Regions from separate parts of the Homo sapiens genome. Here region 2 is linked to region 1. The links are contacts of gene promoters, found by promoter capture Hi-C in human tissues and cell types (Jung and others, 2019). All regions are on one chromosome and are shown on one strand. Each heading gives the region's core, a stretch centred on a gene start or on the middle of the fragment in contact. The rest is flanking DNA. Distances are from core to core; before and after follow the strand shown.

Evidence for each region. The method cuts DNA at HindIII sites, captures the fragments that hold promoters and counts their contacts. A contact is called where the count stands out against the background at its distance.
Region 2: a fragment that was not itself captured here is called in contact with the fragment with the promoter of SGSH in region 1 in 1 of the 25 tissues and cell types used here (H1 embryonic stem cells).

Annotation. Positions count from the first base shown.
Region 1 is chr17:80,217,732-80,222,638 of GRCh38, forward strand. SGSH (N-sulfoglucosamine sulfohydrolase) reads right to left here and starts at 2,602. Exons shown (of 8, transcript NM_000199.5): 1 at 2,495-2,602. The coding sequence starts at 2,582. It overlaps SLC26A11 (solute carrier family 26 member 11), which reads left to right and starts at 2,696. Exons shown (of 18, transcript NM_001166347.2): 1 at 2,696-2,765; 2 at 3,185-3,384; 3 at 3,817-4,063. The coding sequence starts at 3,830. RefSeq lists enhancers at 1,644-1,763, 4,421-4,907 and silencers at 2,564-2,833, 2,854-2,923. The HindIII fragment of the contact is 8,333 bases long and covers 503-4,907 here.
Region 2 is chr17:80,269,278-80,274,184 of GRCh38, forward strand. It overlaps RNF213 (ring finger protein 213), which reads left to right. Exons shown (of 68, transcript NM_001256071.3): 3 at 3,964-4,127. Among named protein-coding and RNA genes, the nearest start is that of RNF213, 11 kb to the left of the region's middle. RefSeq lists a silencer at 1,822-1,871 and an enhancer at 4,761-4,907. The HindIII fragment of the contact is 4,608 bases long and covers 210-4,817 here.

The DNA of each region.
Region 1 (4,907 bases), core at 1,352-3,851:
CCAGTGGGTATGTTAGCAGGTAGACTGGTATCCAGCAGGGATGATGCGTGGTTGGTATGTTAGCAGGCAGGCATGGTATCCAAGTGGGCATGATAAGCAGGCATCATACCACAATAAGCTTGATGATACCCTAAGCAGGCATGATACCCGGTGGGTATGTTGGCAGGTGGGCATGGTACACAGGCTGGACTGATAGCTGGTGGGTATAAGCAGATGGGCATGGTACCCAGGCAAGCCTGGTACCTGCATAGGCATGTTAGCAGGCAGGCATGGTACCCAAGTGGGCAAGATACTCATGCAGGCATGATGACCCAACAAGCTTGATGATACCCCAGCAGGCATGCTACCTGGGTGGGCGTGTTAGCCGGCTAGGCATTTAGGCAGACAGCGGCTGAGCGCATGGCCACAGAACTGCTGGGCAATTCTGGGCTCAGCGGAAACCGCATGGGGCAGAGGGCAGGAGAGCCTCGCCCAGGGCGCGTCTAAAGCTCTATGTGTGTGCGTCCCACCGCTGCTTCTCACTGATGCCATCTCAAAGGCCTAGTGACCTTGCAGGTTGTCTATTTCAACCCTTTCATCCTACACAAAGCAGCTGAGGCCCAGAAAGGTGAGGTGCAGTGCCCAGGGCCACACACTGGGCAGCAGGAAACAGGGACAGGCCGCTGAACTCCTACAACCACACCAAGCTTCTTCCCCCTGCTCTGGAGTAGAGGACACTGGGGGCACCACAGGAGAGGCTGGTGGGAACCCCCAGACCAACACTTTCCCCAGCTCCCTCAGAGGCAATGTGGTCCATGGATGGACAGAGGAGGCTGGGCACCTTCCAGTTGGGCTTCCATCCTCCACCCCACAGTACCCACAGGTGTGAGCACATGGCAGCCACGTAAACCTGGAGGGAGAGCGGGATGGGCTGTGCTCCGTACCCGCAGGCCAGGAAGAAAGCTGCCCTTCTCCAAACCCAGAGTGTCTCGGCACTTGGCTGTGGGCCTGCTATGGTCTGAACTGTGTCCTCCCAGAATTCATATGCTGAAGCCCTAACGTCAACATCACTGTATCTGGAGACAGGGTCCTTAATTAAGGGTAAATGAATCATAAGGATGAGATCCTGATCTGACAGGACTGTGGACTTAAAGGAAAAGAAAGAGAGGGCCGGGTGCAGTGTTTCATGCCCGTAAGCCCAGCACCCGGGAGGCCAAGGCAGGAAGATTGCTTGAGCCCAGGAGTTCGAGACCAGTCTGGGCAACACAGTGAGACCTTGTCTCTACAAAAAATACAAAAATTAGCCAGGCATGGTGATGTGCACTTGAGGTCCCAGCTACTTGGGAGGCTGAGGCAGGAGGATCGCTTGAGCCTGGGAGATTGAGGCTGCAGTGAGCTGTGATTGTGCTACTGTGCTCCAGCCTGGGTGACAGAGTGAGACCCTGTCTCACAAAAAAAAAAAAAAAAAAAAAAAAAGGAAAGAAAGGAAAAAGAAAGGAAAAGGAAGTGAGACCACCCCCATCCGCTTGTCATGTGAGGAAACAGTGAGAGGGTGACCACCTGTAAGCCGAAAGTGGACCCTCACTGGAACCCAACCAAGCTGGCACCCTGACCTTGGATTTTCAGCCCACAGAACTGTGAGAAATACATTTCTGTTTAAGCCGATCCATGGCAGTCCGTGCTAAGAAAGGCCCTAGCCCAGGGGCCGCATAGCCTGGACTCTGACAGCCTCCTGTAGGAATTCTGATCCGCAGGTGAGGGTCCATGCAGATTCTCTGCTGTGTTTCTGGGAGGCGAGGAGTTGGCAGGAGAGCTGTTTATGTTACAGTGAGCCGAACCCCCGCCCAGAGACCACAAAATTAATCAGAAAGAGGGCAACTGGCAGGGCGCCAGACCTCAGAAGGGGAAAGAATCGCAGGCCTTGGGTTTGGCCTTGTCACTTGTCATGAGCCAGAGCCTTGATTACCTAAACCGGAAGTCTTGTGAGCAGCACGGTGCTTGCTCTGGAGGAACCTGGGGTTTCTGAGAGGGACTGGGGTTGGGGGAGACGGTGGTGGGTGGGTGGTGGAGGGCTGTGCCCTTGGGATAAGGGAAAAGACAGCTGAGACACAGGCTCTGGGGTCGGAAATGAGAGCCAGGAGGGCACCCTGTCTGCAGTCTCTGGGGACCGGAGCACCAGCCCCTCCTCTGGGATCCCCTCCCAAGAGGGATTTGAGATCCGTGGACCCCTGAGCCCTGGCTGGGCAGGGTCAGAGGAGGGTGGGACAGGCGGCACGAGGTAAGTGTAGGGGTGCTGGATGCTGGGGCTCACTCCTCCAGCCTTTGCTGCCCTCTCTGGGGAGACACCCGTGAAGAGTCTGGGGGCGGCACAGAGAGGAGGACGAGAGGGAATGGCAGCGGGGGATACAAGGGCAGGGCACACTAGGGTCAGCATTGACCACGGGTGGGGAGGAGGCCAGTGGCCACTTCCCCGGGCCACCGCAGGTGGGCGTGGGGGGGCGGCGCCGGCACTCACCGAGGAGCAGCAGTGCGTTCCGGGGACGCGCCCGGCAGAGCCCCAGGACTAGCAGCAGCGCGCAGCAGGCGGGCACGGGGCAGCTCATGGCGGCGGCGGCTCGGACTCGGGATCGGGATCCGGCTCCGGCTCTCTGGTCTCCCGCTCGGCCCCGCCCCCTGCCCCGACCCCGGTCACGTGCGCGCCAGACCCCGCCCCGGCCTGTCCCCGGCGATTCCTGCGGACCCAGCTGCGGCGACGCCAGGAGACCCCAAGCTGCATCGCCGAGTGGGTGAGTCCGTGGCCCGCGAGGGCGGCGAGCGGGGACCAGGGGCAGGGGGAGCGGACAGTGGCCGGGGTCGCCGGGGGCAGCCGACGCGGGGGCCAGCGCGGAGTCCTGAAGTGCGGGGGCCTCCCGTGGGGACCACTCCCCCGCCGCGTCCCTACCCGGGTCCCCGCGGCCCTCGGCCTTGCTCGGGGCCAAGGGACCGCGGACGGTCAGGTGGCGCAGGGTCTCCTCCGGAGACCCCAGGATCCGGAGCCAGCGGCCTTGTGGGCGGGGCCGGGGGCCGGGGAGTGGATTTTGCCCGGAGCGGAGCGGCCGGGGGCGTGGGGGGCTGGGGGTGAGGGTGGCGGCTCTGCGCGCGGGCGCCGGGGCCCTGGAAGATGCTGCGCACCTGAATTAACCGGGCGCCTCTGATGTCCTCCCAGAAGCAACTAGAACTCCAGGGCTGTGAAAGCCACAGGTGGGGGCTGAGCGAGGCGTGGCCTCAGGAGCGGAGGACCCCCCCACTCTCCCTCGAGCGCCGCAGTCCACCGTAGCGGGTGGAGCCCGCCTTGGTGCGCAGTTGGAAAACCTCGGAGCCCCGCTGGATCTCCTGGCTGCCACCCGCACCCCCCGCCAGCCTACGGTGCGCCCGCGGGCCCAGCTTCTCTCTGCGCTGCTCCCCGTTAAATTCCCTGGGGAGACGGAAAAAAAGGCAAAGGAAGTCGGTTCTCCAGGGGCCAGAAGTGTTGAGCCTAATTAGTCTTCAGACTTCTCAATGAGGAATCGCTTATCAGTTTCTTATCTGGGAGAGTTGAGGATGGAGGGACAGAAGGCACCCAGGATTTGCACGGGGGGGATTCAGGGAGAGAGGGTGATGAGGGACGGGGTGGGCCTTCCAGTCTTGGCCCAGTCCCCATCTTGCACACATTGTTGGCTTCCTCTTAGAGCCGTTCGCCCCCCTGGGGAGGGGAGACCCATAGTGACCTCTCCTGACACCCGCCGACCCTGACCAGTGTTGCCGGGTTCTTCAAAGGCCACGCTCTGACTGCTGGTCTGTGTCACCTGCACCCCCCAGCCCCACCGTAGAGATGCCTTCTTCGGTGACGGCGCTGGGTCAGGCCAGGTCCTCTGGCCCCGGGATGGCCCCGAGCGCCTGCTGCTGCTCCCCTGCGGCCCTGCAGAGGAGGCTGCCCATCCTGGCGTGGCTGCCCAGCTACTCCCTGCAGTGGCTGAAGATGGATTTCGTCGCCGGCCTCTCAGTTGGCCTCACTGCCATTCCCCAGGCGCTGGCCTATGCTGAAGTGGCTGGACTCCCGCCCCAGGTGAGGCGTCTGACCCTGCTGCCAGCCATATCTCAGAAACAGTGCAGAATACACAGTATCAATCCCAGACACCATCAGCGATTCCAGGTTTCCAGCCCCTGGGCCCCAAGGAACCTTTGGTTTACAGTGTGTGACGCAGATTGTCTCTGGGCCGACCCAGGCTCCTATGCCTGTTTGGCACACACAGACACTGAGCTGGTTATGGAGGGGCCAGCGAGATGACTCATGGAGGCCTCAGGAGTTCAAGACCAGCCCGACCAAAATGGTGAAACCCCGTCTCCACTAAAAATACAAAAATTAGGCTGGGTGCGGTGGCTCAAGCCTGTAATCCCAGCACTTTGGGAGGCCGAGGCAGGCGGATCGCAAGGTCAGGAGATGGAGACCATCCTGGCTAACAGGGTGAAACCCCGTCTCTACTAAAAATACAAAAAATTAGCCAGGTGTGGTGGCGGGTGCCTGTAGTCCCAGCTACCTGGGAGGCTGAGGCAGGAGAATGGCGTGAACCCGGGAGGCGGAGCTTGCAGTGAGCCGAGACTGTGCCACTGCCCTCCAGCCTGGGCGACAGAGCGAGACTCCATCTCAAAAAAAAAAAAAAAGAATGCTTCCTCAGACTTGGACACAGCACACGGGCCTGCACCGACCCCTCTGCCTGGCTGTCTGCACCCTGAGGCCCCAGTTGAGTGCTGCTAAAAAAGTGGCCTCCTGATCACTGCAGGTCCACCCACAGGGCAGGGCGGTGCACCTTTAACCTGGGCCTGGACACAGCTGACACCCACACATCCCGAGCTTGGACACGCACACTAGGGAGCTGGTGGATGGGCCTCGGCCTCCTGAGTGCTCACCA
Region 2 (4,907 bases), core at 1,264-3,763, 51 kb after region 1:
ACTACCTAGGCATCCTTCAACCCAATCAAATTGACACCTGATATTAACCATCACACCGTCTATCCATCCCTCTACCCTATCTGTCCACCTACCCTATCTATCTATCCACCTATCCATCTGTCCTATCATCTATCCATCCATCCATCCATTCATCTATTCTATCTATCCATCCATCTATTCATCCATCCATTCATCTATTCTATCTATCCATCCATCCATTCATCTATTCTATCTATCCATCCATCCTCTTTCTATTCATCCATTCATCTATCCATCTATTCTATCTGTCCATCCATCTATACTATCTATCCGTCCATCCTATCTGTTTATCTATCATCTGTCTATCCATTCATCTAGCTTATCTATCTATTCATCCATCAATCTATCCATCCATCCATTCATCTGTTCTATCTATGTATCTATCTTATGTATCTATCCATTCATCTATCCCATCTTATCTATCCATCCCATCTTATCTATCCATCCGTCCATCCATCCATGTATCTACCTATCTACCTGTCTACCTACCTACCTACATATTCTATAGTTCTGCTCTCTGGATAACCCTGTTCTATACTGTGAGTATTTAATGAGTTAACATGTACATTGTTTAGGAAGTGCTAGTTAAGTATGTCTCTTATTTCTGAATCCAGCTACTTACTTTTATGACAATAAAAATGTAAATGCTGGTTGGCAAATGACCCACATGTTACAGGAGGACATAAAATAGCACGAAGTTTCCTCACCCTGGGCCAGGACTGTCACATTCCCCAGAGCAACACTGTAAACTGGTGTGTCCTCTTCTAGACATCTCCTCTGCGTGAATGTGTGCGCACACACACACACGTTAATGTGAGTGGCAGCTCGTGCCCTGCGCATGCCTTGCTACTTTCATGTACAGTGGCTGAGGCCTCTAGTGGAGGACGGACCTCAGCAGCCTCCCTGGCTCTGCCACCCAGCAGGGCCTGACTCAGCAACAGGCCTATCCTGGGCACTTCCCTTGTCCTGCTGTTTTGCCGTGACATAGGCTGCTAGGCTGCATGCTTGCACGGAGACCTTGCCCTCTGAGCCAGGCTGGCCGTCTGGAGGACAGATTCCCAGCCACTAGCCTGCTGGCTTCAGGCTGGCACATTTACAATGCAAATCTCTTCAAATCCCCTGCACAAAGCTTCTCTGGCCACTCACTGGCCGCGTCTCTGTGCTCCCTGCCTTCTAGATTTCTATTCAGATTCTCTCCAGCGTTCAGAATGATGGATCTTGTCAATCTGTGCCGGTCGTTGGGTGGAAATGGCACTGCAGGGCCTCCGTTCTGATTTCCTTCATCAGTAGGCATGGCAGGCATCTCTTTGGAAGTTAAGAGACCACATGTATGTGTATTTCCTTGAGCGGCCTGTCTGTCTTTAGGGAAGCTCGTTTTGCTTTGGTTGGTCCTTATGATTGTTGGGACTGTTTATACTGGGAACAGCCTGAAACCCAGCTCTCCTAGGCTTGCTCAGCAAGAGAAACGTGCTGGGTCACCGTTGCCCAAGTCCAGGCTTGAGGGGTTCAAGTGTACTAGGGCTTTGCTCCATTTCTCTGATCCTGACAGCTCTGCCCTTCTCCACTGCCAGCTTTGTCTGCAGGTGGAGGAGAACAGACAGTGGTTTCCCAGCACCACCTCATGGTCTTTCCAGGATGCACTGAGTGGCAGAAACCCCAGTAAGGGTCCAGAAGTATGGATGCTTCCATACTTCTTGCTGGTTGGCCCTTCCCTTAGTCAATCACTAGTGCCAGGGTAAATATCGGCCCTGATTGGATTAGGCTAGTCAGGGCCCGCCCCTGGTGGGAGGGTAGGTTGGTGGGAGGGTAGGTTGGTGGGAGGGGCAGGCTCAGAATCCCTGGTTGTAGGTGAAACAGCAGCTCTCGAAGGATGGGGCCTTGGGTCGCCTGTTGCAGATCTTTCTCCAGCTCTTACTTTCTGGCTGTGATGTTTCATGTGTGTCTTATGTATGTAGACGTTTAGAGGATTTGTTATCAATTTTGAGTCCTGCTAAGGAACTTCACGAATTCTTGAGCTCTTGGCTACGCCAACACTGAGTACTCAAAGGGAAAAAGGTCTGCGTGGTCCCTGCCCTCCAGATCTCAGAGGAGGAGAGGGCAGTGACGAAACCAGGTGCTGGAAACGGGCGTGGGGATGAAGTGTCCAGACAGGGGCGCAGCTGGGACTGGCTTGGGGCCTTGGAGAAGGGTCTGTGGGGATCAGGCAGAGGGAAGGTTCTGTACAGAAAAGCAGGCTTGGCCTGGCACCATCTGGAGTGTGTGTCAGGGAGAGGTGGGGTCGTCCAGACCCAGGATTGAAAACAGGGACTCCTTGAAGGGTGTTTTCGTCCATTTTCTGTTGCCATAAGAGTACCCGAGCCTGGGTAATTGAAAAAGAAAAGGCCGGGTGTGGTGGCTCAAGCCTGTAATCCCAGCACTTTGGGAGGCCGAGGTGGGCGGATCACGAGGTCAGGAGTTCAAGACCAGCCTGACCAACATGGTGAAACCCCGTCTCTACTAAAAATACAAAAAAAATTAGCTGGGTGTGGTGGCGCATGCCTGTAATCCCAGCTACTCCAGAGGCTGAGGCAGGAGAATCACTTGAACCCAGGAGGTGGAGGTTGCAGTGAGCCGAGATTGCACCACTGCACTCCAGCCTGGGTGACAGAGCGAGACTCCGTCTCAAAAAAGAAGAAAAAAGAAAAGAGGCCGGGTGGGGTGGCTCACACCTGTAATCCCAGCACTTTGAGAGGGCAAGACGGGTGGATCATGAGGTCAGGAGTTCAAGACCATCCTGGCCAAGATGCTGAAACCCCTGTCTCTACTAAAAACACAAAAATTAGCCGGGTGTGGTGGCATGCACCTGTAATCCCAGCTACTTGGGAGGCCGAGGCAGGAGAATTGCTTGAACCTGGGAGGCAGAGGTTGCAGTGAGCCAAGATTGTGCCTCTGCACTCCAGCCTGGGCGACAGAGCAAGACTCTGTCTCAAAAAAAATAATAAAATAAAATAAAAAAAGAAAAAGAAAAAAGAGGTTTATTTAGCTCACAGTTCTGCAGACTGAGAAGTTCAGGGCCTGGCCCTGATGTCTGGTGAGGGCTTTTGTGCCACATGGCAGAGTAGGCCGACGGGGATGCTGACAGCTGTGAAAGACTAAGCCTGATGGGACATCTTGACTTCATAACAACCCACCTGGCGGGTGCTAATCCATTCCCGAGGGGAGTAAACAAGCCTCTCAAGAGTAAACCCATGACCGCAAACGGCACCAAGCCATTCGTGAGGGATTTGCCCTCACGACCCACAGACCTCCCCGCAGCCCTGCCTCCCAGCACTGGCATACTGGGGATCAACATGAGTTTTGGTGGGGATGGACAAAGTGCGTCCACACCACAATGAAGGCTAGAGTGAGTGTGGGGCTGGCAGAGTGGGTGCTCCATGCTGTCTGCATGGCAGCTCTGCATGGGTGAGAATCTGGAGGCAGAGCAGCTGGGCGGGCAGATGCCTTAGTGCCAGGACAAGGGAAGCAGTTTGAGACCCCTGGGCCGCCACTGGGAGAATGCCCACCCTGGGGAAGACAGGAGGAATGTCTACAGTAGGGGAGGAAAGCGTAACAGGCTCTGTTTTAGAGGTGCCCGAGGTGCGCTGACATCCTAGTACAGAGTCAGGTGAATCCACTCGTGGACATTGGGAGGAAGAGGCTGGATGCTAGGACGGCACAGTCTTTCTGTCTGATTCACCCCTTGTTGTGCTGAAACTGGGGTCCCTGGTTCCCTCCTACCCACCTGGAGCAGAACCCCTACCCTGCTCATGTTAGCAGGCCCAATGCAGGACCTCGGAGGGAGAACAGGGTGAATCTCTCCATGCACTCGTGGGGAGGATTTCTGTTTTTCCTTCCTAACACTCGCTTCTCTCTGAGATCTGACCCTTCCTTCATCTGCCGTTACAGATTCTGAGAACAATAACTCCACAATGGCGTCGGCCTCGGAGGGTGAAATGGAGTGTGGGCAGGAGCTGAAGGAGGAAGGGGGCCCGTGCTTGTTCCCGGGCTCAGACAGTTGGCAAGAAAACCCCGAGGAGCCCTGTTCCAAAGCCTCCTGGACCGTCCAAGAAGTGAGTGCACTGCCTCGGCTCCCCTCCGCCCCCGCTCACTCTGCCCAGGAAAATCTCACTGCACAGCTGCCCAGCTAGCCCCCGAAAATGCCACCATGGCCCAGCCCATTGAACCTGCCCACAGGGCAGCAGCAGAGCTGCCCCTTCTGCACCTGATTCATCTCTGGCTGGAGTCTGTGGGTTCCAGACCCCCTGGGGCCTCCACCGTCTTTTTTTTTTTTTTTTTTTTTTTGAGACAGAGTTTCGCTCTTGTTGCCCAGGCTGGAGTGCAGTGGTGCGATCTCGGCTCGCTGCAGCCTCCACCTCCTGGTTTCAAGCAATTCTCCTGCCTCAGCCTCCCAAGTAGCTGGGACTACAGGCATGCACCACCACGACCAGCTAATTTTTTTGTATTTAGTAGAGACGGGGTTTCACCATGTTGGTCAGGTTGGTCTCAAACTCCTGACCTCAGGAGATCCACCCACCTCGGCCTCCCAAAGTGCTGGGATTACAGGTGTGAGCCACCGCGCCCGGCCTCCACCTTCCTTTTCTTTCTACCAGACCCAATACTCGTGTGTCTCCCAGAAGCTGTGGCTGGGGTGGGGCCTGAGCTTCTGCCGTGTGTATCTGTGTCCCAAGCTTCTGTGGGTCTCTTTGCATTGAGGGTGCAAGCTCAGAGGTGCCTTGCTGCTTCGGGGCAGGGACCTGAGCGTCCGCTGGGTGCGTGTCTTGCGCTTCTGTAGGCCTCTGCATTGAGGGTGCGTGCCCAGAGGGGCTTTGAAGCTTTGGGTGTGGGGTGGG